3 separate regions of the Homo sapiens genome follow, and regions 2 and 3 are each linked to region 1. The links are contacts of gene promoters, found by promoter capture Hi-C in blood cells and fetal thymus (Javierre and others, 2016). All regions are on one chromosome and are shown on one strand. Each heading gives the region's core, a stretch centred on a gene start or on the middle of the fragment in contact. The rest is flanking DNA. Distances are from core to core; before and after follow the strand shown.

Region 1 (3,557 bases), core at 979-3,478:
GCCAAGGCAGGCAGATCACCTGAAGTCAGGAGTTCAAGACCAGCCTGGTCCAACAGGGAGAAACCCCATCTCTACTAAAAATACAAAATTAGGCTTGGCCCGGCCCTGTGGCTCATGTCTGTAATCCCAGCACTTTGGGAGGCCGAGGCGGGTGGATCACGAGGTCAGGAGTTTGAGACCAGCCTGGCCAACATAATGAAACCCCATCTCTACTAAAAATACAAAAAAAATTAGCCAGGCTTTAATCCCAGCTACTCGGGAGGCTGAGGCAGGAGAATCACTTGAACCTGGAAGGTGGAGGTTGCAGTGAGCTGAGATCGTGCCACTGCACTCCAGCCTGGGTGACAGTGCAAGACTCCGTCTCAAAAAAAAAAAAAAAATTAGCCAGGCGTGGTGGTGGGCACCTGTAATCCCAGCTACTCAGGAGGCTGAGGCAGGGGAATCACTTGAACCTGGGAGGCGGAGGTTGCAGTGAGCCAAGACAAGATGGCACCACTGCACTCCAGCCTAGGCAACAGAGCGAGACTCTGTCAAAAAAAAGAAAGACTTGGAGTCAGTGTTCTGTGTGGAAGTTGGGGTTTGGGGTGAGGCTGGGAGTAGCCCTCGGGTTGGGGGAATCTAAGATTGACTGGCTTCCACTTCTTCCCAGTACCCCCACACAGATGCCTCCCAGTTGAGAGAAACTCTACCTGGCCGAGCAGTGATCTCCAGGTGGAATGACATGGTCAGGTTGCCACGGTGACAATAATACTTTCCAGCGTCTTGAGCTGTGGCCCGGGGCAACAACAGACCCGTCTCCATTACCCACATATCTCTGGCCGGGCGATCGTCCTTCAGCTCTAGGCTCAGCAATGACTTAGGCCCCTTGGGGTGCACATGGGTCCAGGAGAGGGGGCCCCTGGACACAGAGTCAGGGGGTACCCCACAGGACAGCCAGAGTGTGGAGCCAGGGGCCATGGTGAGGTCTGGGACAGGGAGAGATAAGACAAGGAAAGCCTGATCCTCAGGGTTTCACCTCTTCAGTTTCCCCTCCCCTCTGTCTCTGGACCCCCGCTTCCCGGCATCTCCCCAGTCATCACCATACCCTGGCTGAGGCTCTGGTTCAGGCTGTCCCTCGGTGGGAGACACGGAGGCTCTCCCTCCCAGATCTCAGGGCGGTCTTTGGCCCACACATACAGCTTGGGGCTCATGAGCTTCCCGGAAGGGGAGCTGGGGCCCTCTGAGGACCTGTTCTTCAGGCCACAGCCCAGGCCACCTAGGTCCGAAACATTCCACCGGAACAGCTCCCCTGGGAAGAGACCCAGAACCAAATGCAGAGACACCCAGGAGAGGGAGAGAGATAGAGACTCAAAGACAGAGATAAATAGAGACAAAGACCCGCAGAGAGAGAGAAGACAGTGAGAGGTAGAGGGACAGGAAGCAGCTCATACTGAAGCCACGAAGCCCCAGGAGTCTGCCCACCTAGCTCCGAGTTTCGCCCTCAATCCCTCCAGCCCCTCTCTCCAGCTCCATTGTGGCCGCGGACCTCTTCTGTCCATGGTGGCCTCCCTTCTCTCCTCCTGCCCCTGCCCCAGCCCGGCCCTCACCGCTGCCCTCCACATTGACTGTCCAGCCAGGCTGCCAGGCCTTCTCAGAGGGGGGCCCCGGCTGGCACAGGTAGAAGCCCCCCATCTGTTGAGAGACGTTGAAGATGAAAAGCCAGATGGCCAGGGGCCTCATGTGGATTCCCAGGCCTGGCAGCCCCAGGCTGAGTTTTAAGAAGGGTTTAAGCGGGGACTCCCGAGACCAGGTCAGCTGCTGAGTGGGGCCATCTGAGGTCCCCTTGAGGCACTGCAGCACAGCGTTATCTCCCTCTGTGGAGAGAGAGGGAGAGAGGTGTGGGCATGGGTGGGGGGGACCTCCAAGCCCCCCGACTCCTCACACCAGGTTATAGAGCAGAGGACTCCAAAAGCTGGGAGTGGAGGAGCCGGCAGAGTCCTTCCAACCCTTTCCTGAATTTTACAAATAAGAAAATGGAGGCTCAGAGAGGGTAAGTTACTCAGCCAAGGACACCCAGCCACAACTCAAGTTTCCAGCCTCAATCCCTTCCCTTTCTGCCCTTTGGACATACCTTCCACCTTCACCACTAGAGGTTCCTCGGGCCTGACTTCCATGGGGGTGAGGAAGAGGAGGAAGAAGAGGAGGCGAGGAGGTGGCATGGTGGTCAGACTCTCCGGGGCACCCAGCTTCGCGCAGGGGATGCTGGGGCAGGCAGGGGCCTGGAGGGCACTCAACCATGGGTGTCTGCGGGGGCGGCAGGCAGTCCCCCCAGAGAGGAAGGCGGTGGTCACGCCTCAGGCCCCATTCTCCAGGAACCCTCCAGACTCACAACACTTGCCTCCTCCCTGCCACGCTGTTTTATTTTCATCCCAGCTCTCACTACCACGGGAAATGATCTTGTGTGTTTATTTGTTCATTTCTGTTTTCTGCACAAGAATGTGAGCCCCTTGGAGTAGAGACCGTGTTGTTCACCACTAATTGCAAGTGCTCTAGAACAATGCTGGGCACATAGACTCCTTCTCAAAAAAAAAAAAAAAAATTAGCCGGGCATGGTGGCGCACACCTGTAATCCCAGCTACTTAGGAGGCTGAGGCAGGAGAATCACTGGAAACCAGGAGGCGGAGGTTGCAGTGAGCCGAGATCACACCACTGCACTCCAGCCTGGGCACCAGAGTGAGACTCTGTTTCAAAAAAAAAAAAGAAAAGAAAACAGTCCTATACAAATATTGTTTGTGAAGATTAAAAATGACAATATGTTCAGCACTATTAGCCCAGTGTCCAGCACATCATAAGCCCTCAGTTAATGAGATACAGCTTCAATTAATGCCTAAGAGCTCAAGTCATACTGCCTCAGTTTAAAACCAGGCAAAAGCCAGGCACAGTGGTACACGCCTATGGTCCCAGGTCCTTGGGAGGCTGAGGTAGAAGGATCGCTTGAGCCCAGGAGTTCAAGGCTGCAGTGCACCATGATTATGCCTGGGAATAGCCACTGTGCTCCAGTCCGGGCAACACAACAAGACCCTGTCTCTAAAAGAAAAATTGTTTTAAAAGAACCCAGGAGTTCTAACTCCTAAATCTGTTCTTATTCTGCCCCATGCCTCTCCTCTCTGTCTCTCTCTTTCTCTGTCACTCTCTATGTGCCTCTGTGTCTTTTTCACTGCTGCAGGGACTCAGAAAAAGAATTCAGGGACCCAAGAGACCCACTTTCTCAGTGGCTGATTCCCAGGCCCATCTCACCAGGCTGTGACTTCCTGTTTGCTGTGGGCAAGCCCCAGGGGACCCTCCCTACAGGTGGCAGGGCCTCCACTTCCCTTTGGCCAGTTGAGGCGGCTGGGAGGCGGAAGAATGAGGCATGAATGAAGGGGAATGAAGGGGGCGAGTAGCAGGACTCAATCTGCCTTTCATTCAACAAAATCTCTCTAATCCCCTCATTAGCTACCCAGCTGCCCAGACTGGCTTTCACTAGAGCATGTCATTCCCCTGCTTAAAACATGTCAGTTACAGCCAGGCACAGAGGC
Region 2 (3,685 bases), core at 670-3,169, 360 kb after region 1:
ACAAAAGAGCTTCCAAACCCCTTTAGAGGCCCCCACCTCTGTTCCTCTTCACGGCAAAACTTCTTCCCTAAATTGTGCAGGGATCCGGTGCTGCTTCCTTGTCCCCACTTCACTTTCCAACCCACTTCTCTAGCTCTGTCCTCATCAGTCTCTCATCAAGAGAGTCAACAGCCCCTGCAGGGGAAGCGTGAGGGCCCTCTCTGCTGCTTCCGATGTGGCCTACTGATCTTGACATGATGCTACTCCCTTCTCCTCTGGCTTCAGGGCCTCCCTCCTGGCAGTTCGCCGGCCACCCACCTCCAGCTCCTCCTCTGGGCTGGAGCCTGGCTATCTCTTACACCCCCCCAGGTCCTCACCCCCACTTCCCAGCTGTGTAGTGCCATCTCCCAATCTGTACATCCGTCAAAAGAAAGTCACAGAAGGGATGATAAACAGCACCAAATGCCACAGAAGAGGACTCAGAGGGGTCTCCCAAAGCTGAGGAAGTCACTGAGGACCTTGGGGAAAACATTTTCCGTGGAAGAGACAGAAGCCAACACACAGGAGGGGGAGGCAAATGCAGGAAGCAAATGTAGGTTACTCTGTCTGGGAGTACAGCTGGGAGGCCAGCGAGCAAGAAGGGGTATGGGGGGTGCTGAATGGAGGAAAGTGACACGGAGGAATGTGAACACGTGGCTGGGGGGAGTTTCATGCTGAGAAGCCAGGGACAGAAGAGGGGGCTGTGTGAGAGGAGGCAGGCGCAGCGAGAGACAGGCTCTAGCACTGGATCATACCCAGCGACACCTCCCCGGCTCAGCTGACATTCCTTCTGGCCTGTTCCCTCTACACTGTCTCAGACACACGATCTTGCTGCCTGCCCACTCCTACCTGCAAAGCCCTTTCCCTTCTGGCTCAAGGCTGCGCTTGCCTGACCAGTCCTAAAGAAGCACACTTTTCTCTTGCTTGATTCTTCCTAGAACTGACATGGACTCTGCAACACGCCTTTAGAAACTGGCCTTCTACCGGGCGCAGTGGCTCACGCCTGTAATACCAGCACTTTGGGAAGCCGAGGCAGGCGGATTACCTGAGGTCAGGAGTTTGAGACCAGCCTGGCCAACATGGTGAAACCCTGTATCTACTGAAAATACAAAAGTTAGCCAGGCGTGGTGGCCGGTGCCTGTAATCCCAGCTACTCGGAGGCTGAGGCAGGAGAGCTGCTTGAACCCAGCAGGCGGATGTTGCAGTGAGCCGAGATCGTGCCACTGCACTCCAGCCTGGGCAACAAGAGCTCCGTCTCAAGAAAAATACAAAAGGGCCGGGCGCAGTGGCTCACGCCTGTAATCCCAGCACTTAGGGAGGCTGAGGCAGGTGGATCACAAGGTCAGGAGATTGAGACAATCCTGGCTAACACAGTGAAACCCCATCTCCACTAAAAATACTAAAAATTAGCCGGGCGTGGTGGTGGGTGCCTGTGGTCCCAGCTACTCGGGAGGCTGAGGCAGAATGGCGTGAACCCGGGAGGCAGAGCTTGCAGTGAGCCGAGATTGTGCCACTGCACTCCAGTCCGGGCAACAGTGCGAGACTCCGTCTCAAAAAATAAAAATAAAAATAAAAAAAGAAGAAACTGGCCTTCTAGCCAGCTGCTATTGGTGTATCTTTTCTTCCCCAACAGACTAGAAGCTCTCAGGCAAGAACGGAAATCTCTGCTTTCATCAATCAATCACCACTCATTAGTAGCGTCAGGGACTTAGCAGGCACTTTTCTAATTTTCACTACTTCACACCCCAGCTCTCTCCTTCCCTGACCCCCATCTCCACAGTTAGGTCCACTTTGGATTTCCTTACATTGACTCTTCCAAACTTTTTTTGAAAGCGTAGGCTTTCCTTGGCTTCTGCAAGCTACCGCGTCAACTATGAACCACATGGTACTGACTCCCAAATCGATCCCCAGCCCAGAGGGCTTCCCAAAGATTCAGAATCTTTTTTTTTTTTTTTTTTAAGGCGGAGTCTAGTTCTGTCGCCAGGCTGGAGTGCAGTGGCGTGATCTTGGCTCACTGAAACTTCCACCTCCCTGGTTCAAGCGATTCTCCTGCCTCAACCTCCCAAGTAGCTGGGATTACAGGTGTCTGCCACCACGCCCAGCTAATTTTGTATTTTTAGTAGAGACGGGGTTTTGCTTTGTTGGCCAGGCTGGTCTCGAACTCCTGACCTCAGGTGATCCACCTGCCTCGGCTTCCCAATGTGCTGAGATTACAGGCGTGAGCCACCATGCCTGGCCAACAACAGAAATTTATTGCTCACAGTTCTGAAGGCCGGAAAGTACAAGATCCAGGCCCCAGTAGATTCGGCATCGCTCTCCGCTTCAAAGATGGTGCCTTCTCACTGCATTCTCAACATGGCAGAAGGGGCAACACAAGTCCCTCAGGCCTCTTTCATAAGGGCGCTAACCCCATTCTTGAGAGTGGAATCCTCACAGCCTAATCACTTCCCAAAGGCCCCACCATGTTGGGGATCAAGTTTCAACATATGAATTTTAGGGGAACACAAACACTCAGACCACAGCATTTGGCTCCTGAACCCCCAAAAGTCATGTCCTTTTTACTTGCAAAATACATTCAGTCCACCCCAATGGCCCCAAATAGAAACTCATTCTAGCATCAACTCAAAAGTCTAAAGTCCAGAGTCTCATCTATCATCTAAATCAGATATGGGTGGCTGGGTGTGGTGTATCATGCCTGTAATCCCACACTCTGGGAAACCAAGGTGGGCGAATCACTTGAGGTCAGGAGTTCAAGACCAGCCTGGCCAACATGGTGAAACCCTGTCTCTACTAAAAATACAAAAATTAGCTGGGCATGATGGCAGGCACCTGTAATTCAGCTACTCAGGAAGCTGAGGCAGGAGAATCACTTAAACCTGGGAGGCAGAGGTTGCAGTGAGCCGAGATCCCACCAGTGCACTCCAGCCTGGGTGACAGAGTGAGGCTCACTCTCTCGCTAAATAAATAAATAAATAAATAAATAAATAAATAAATAAATAAATAAAATTTAAAAAAATCAATCAATCAATCAGGTATGGGTGAGACTCAAAGTACAATTCATCCTGGGGCAAATTCCCCACCATCTGTGAGCCTGTGAAATCAAACGTGTTATGTGCTTGTAAAATACAACGGTGGGACAGGCATAGGACAGACATTCTAAAAGAGAGAAACAACAAAGAAGAAAGGGGTAATAGGTCCCAGGTAAGTCCAAAACCCAACAGAGCAAACCCCATTCAATCTCAAGGTTTCTGAACAACCTTCTTCAACTCTATGTCCTCCTACCTTCTGGACACACTGGCAGGGACATGTTGCTGGGCTCTGGGCAGCCCTGCCTGTACAGGTTTGCTGGGCACAGCCCATGCAACAGCCCTCACTTGTTGGAGTTGCATGCCTGTGGCTCTCCCAGGCTGGAGTTGCACACTGGTGGCTCTACCAGTCTGGGGTCTCAGAGGCAACCCTACCCCCATAGCTCTGCTAGGCAATGCCCTAATGGGGACTTTCTGCAGGGGCCTTACCCTGTGTCAGTTCTCTGCCTGGGCCCAAGGCTCTTCAGGGCATCCTTTACAATCTAGGTGGGGGTAGCCATGCCCCTACAGCTTGTGTATTCTGTGCACCAGCAAAGACAGCGCCATGTGGATGCTGCCAAACTACCTCGGGCTGCCAAGGA
Region 3 (3,343 bases), core at 844-3,343, 390 kb after region 1:
AGGTGGCTCACGCCTGTAATCCCAGCACTTTGGGAGGCCGAGGCGGGCAGATCACCTGAGGTCAGGAGTTCGAGACCAGCCTGGCCAACGTGGTGAAACCCCGTCTCTACTAAAAATATAAAAATTAGCCGGGCGTGGTGGCACAAGCCTGTAATCCCAGCTACTCAGGAGGCTGAGGCAGGAGAATCACTTGAACCCAGGAGGCGGAGGTTGCAGTGAGCCGAGATCATACCACTGCACTCCAGCCTGGTGACAGAGTGAGACTCTGTCTCAAAACAAAAACAAACAAACCAACAAAAAAAGGATGGAGTCTTGCTCTATTGCCCAAGCTGGCCTTGAACTCCCAGCTTCAAGCAATCCTCCCAGCTTACCCTCCCAGAGCCCTGGAATTACAGGCATGAGCTACCGCACTAGGCCAATCTTTGCTTAATTTAAGATTATTTTCCTCTTTCTCTGATCACCTGGTCTGTTATTATTGGCCCAATCCTGTTTTCATTCAAGTATCCTGTCTTCACTTTCATTTCCTGGGTGTTAAGGAACTCATACATCATCCAAATCTGGGAAAACAAAGGCTAAATTCAATTCCGGCTCAGGCAAGGGAGAAACACAAGCAGAAGTTCAGCTTTTTGTGTTTTTGTTTTTGTTTTCAGACACAGTCTCATTCTGTTGCTGAGGCTGGAGTGCAGTGGCTCGATCTCAGCTCACCACAACCTCTCCCTCCCAGGTTCAAGCGATTCTCCTGCCTCAGCCTCCTGAGTAGCTGGGATTACAGGCACTTGCCACCACACCAGGCTAATTTTTGTATTTTTAGTAGAGATGGGATTTCGCCATGTTGGCCAGGCTGGTCTTGAACTCCTGACCTCAGGTGATCCACCCACTTTGTGGATCTCCCAAAGTGCTGGGACTACAGGCATAAGCCACCACGCTCGGCCTCATTGTGTCTTCTGCCTCAGTACATCCATATTTTGAAATACATATTATTTTATTATAATTTGTTTTTGAGACAGGGTCTCCCTCTGTCACCGGGCACTGTAGCATGTGTCTTTCAAACATTATCTCATTTGATCCTCTCCCCAACTCTAGGAAGAAGATACAATTATTATCATCCTTATTTTACAGAATTGGAAACCAAGGCACAGAGAGGTGAAGGGACTCGCCCAAGGTCACACGGAAAGTGGTGGGTCAGGGGATTGAACTGAGGGCAACTGGCTCCAGACCCTGAACTCTCCAACCCTCTGCCACCCTCCTCCTAGGTGAGGGAGATTACATTACTGGGGACCCTGTTTCAGGATATTAAGGGGTTTTCCAAGATGTTTCTCATAGAAAAAAGAAAAAAAAGGGTGTGGCTCATGCCTGTAATCCCAGCACTTTGGGAGGCCGAGGCAGGCAGATGACTTGAGGTCAGGAGTTCAAGATCAGCCTGTCCAACATGGTGAAACCCCATCTCTACTAAAAATACAAAAATTAGCCAGGCATGGTGGCAGATGTCTATAATCCCAGCTATTCGGGAGGCTGAGCCAGGAGAATTGCTTGAACCTGGGAGGAGGAGGTTGCAGGTTGCAGTGAGCCAAGATCACACCACTGCACTCCAGCCGGGCGACAGAGACTCCATTTCAAAAAAAAAAAAGAAGACAAGCAAGATGTTGAGTGTGACTGGGTGGAAGCCACTGACTTGTCCCTGGCACAAGTGTGCTGATATCCCTTCCCCCTCCTTCCTCACGTCCTGCATCTCAGCGAGAATTGGGGTGCCGGGGTTAGCTGTGTGGCCGTCATCCCAGGCCCAGGTGAAGCCCTCGATCAGGTGAGGCCATGATCCCAACGAGTGTTTTAGCCCAGATCCTGCCTCTTCCCTGCTTTCTGCCGAGAAGCGGGACCTCCTCTATGGAAAATATCCAGCTGGGTGAGCCTGGGAGGGAGGAGGTGAGTTGGGCTGGACTCAGGGACCGACTCTTCCCGTCTCATGACTGTGTTTACTGGGCTGGATTTTGGGAAGGGGCCAGATTGCATCAGACAGGGCCTGATGGGCTGGAGCCAGACTGTGGTCTGAGGAGGAGACACAGCCTTATAAGCTGAGGGAGTGGAGAGGCCCGGGGCCAGGAAAGCAGAGACAGACAAAGCGTTAGGAGAAGAAGAGAGGCAGGGAAGACAAGCCAGGCACGATGGCCACCTTCCCACCAGCAACCAGCGCCCCCCAGCAGCCCCCAGGCCCGGAGGACGAGGACTCCAGCCTGGATGAATCTGACCTCTATAGCCTGGCCCATTCCTACCTCGGTAAGGCCCACTCAGCCATCTCCACGGTCCTTCCTCCTCTCCCGAAATCAGGACCCACCCCTCTTGTTTCCTCTCATTTCCTTTCCTTTCCTCTTCGTTTCTTTCTTTCTTTTTTTTTGAGAGAGTCACTCTGTCACCCAGGCTGGAGTGCAGTAGTGTGATCACAACAACTCAAACAACTCACCGCAGCCTCGAACTCCTGGGCTCAAGTGATCCTCCTGCTTCAGCCTCCTGAGTGGCTGGAACTTCAGGTGTACACCACCTGCAGTGGTGAGATGGGGTCTCACTATGTTTCCCAGGCTGATCCCAAATTCCTGGGCTCAAGCAATTCTCCTGCCTTGGCCTCCCAAAGTGCTGAGATTACAGGAGTGAGCCACCCTGCCCAGCCCACTCACCCTTTTCTAGCCAACCTGTTCCTTGGACCCTCACGTCACCCCTGTCTAATCCCTTATCCCAGGAGTGCTATGTTACTCAGCCTGGGACCTCACACACATCTGGGGTCCCACATTCCACAGAGGGGAAGCAGCAGGCTTCTCCCTGCTCTTCCCATCCCCACAACCCTGAACCCCTGCCTCTCCTCTGACAGGGCCTCTCATCATGCCTATGCCCACTTCACCTCTGACTCCTGCCTTGGTTACAGGAGGTGGAGGCCGGAAAGGTCGCACCAAGAGAGAAGCTGCTGCCAACACCAACCGCCCCAGCCCTGGCGGGCACGAGAGGAAACTGGTGACCAAGCTGCAGAATTCAGAGAGGAAGAAGCGAGGGGCACGGCGCTGAGACAGAGCTGGAGGTAAGGAGTCGGGGGGCCCAGAGAGCTCAAGGTGGTGCTTCTGCCATGAAGGACAGGCCGGAAGGTGTGTGATTGGGTGGGGAGGAGGGATCAGGCAACTGTTGTCTTGATGCAGAATAAAACGAGACATATGTTTGATTGTGAGTTTCCTAGTGGCCAGAGCAAAGTGGGAACACAGAACCTTTCCAATTGAAGGGAAATTTGACTTACAGAGACAGAAATTGAGGATAGAGAGGGTGGGTCCTTCCCTGGAGTCACAAATCAAGTGAGTGGGAGAGGCAG

Evidence for each region. Contacts are between HindIII fragments. The CHiCAGO score rates a contact against its expected background, and 5 or more counts as called.
Region 2: a contact is called between a fragment that was not itself captured here and the fragment with the promoter of CD19 in region 1, in 1 of 17 cell types (total CD8 T cells). The highest score is 5.2, in total CD8 T cells.
Region 3: the fragment with the promoter of NUPR1 here is called in contact with the fragment with the promoter of CD19 in region 1 in 9 of 17 cell types (fetal thymus, erythroblasts, non-activated CD4 T cells and 6 more); the score reaches 8.7 in fetal thymus.

What each region holds. Positions count from the first base shown.
Region 1 is chr16:28,930,642-28,934,198 of GRCh38, reverse strand. CD19 (CD19 molecule) reads right to left here and starts at 2,228. Exons shown (of 15, transcript NM_001770.6): 1 at 2,111-2,228; 2 at 1,587-1,853; 3 at 1,085-1,288; 4 at 690-965. The coding sequence starts at 2,198. The HindIII fragment of the contact is 16,330 bases long and covers 1-3,557 here.
Region 2 is chr16:28,569,883-28,573,567 of GRCh38, reverse strand. All of the region lies in intron 1 of SGF29 (SAGA complex associated factor 29), which reads right to left. Among named protein-coding and RNA genes, the nearest start is that of SGF29, 18 kb to the right of the region's middle. The HindIII fragment of the contact is 5,033 bases long and covers 1-3,685 here.
Region 3 is chr16:28,537,724-28,541,066 of GRCh38, reverse strand. NUPR1 (nuclear protein 1, transcriptional regulator) reads left to right here and starts at 2,093. Exons shown (of 3, transcript NM_012385.3): 1 at 2,093-2,271; 2 at 2,912-3,061. The coding sequence starts at 2,160. The coding sequence ends at 3,048. RefSeq lists an enhancer at 2,100-3,299. The HindIII fragment of the contact is 7,417 bases long and covers 1-3,343 here.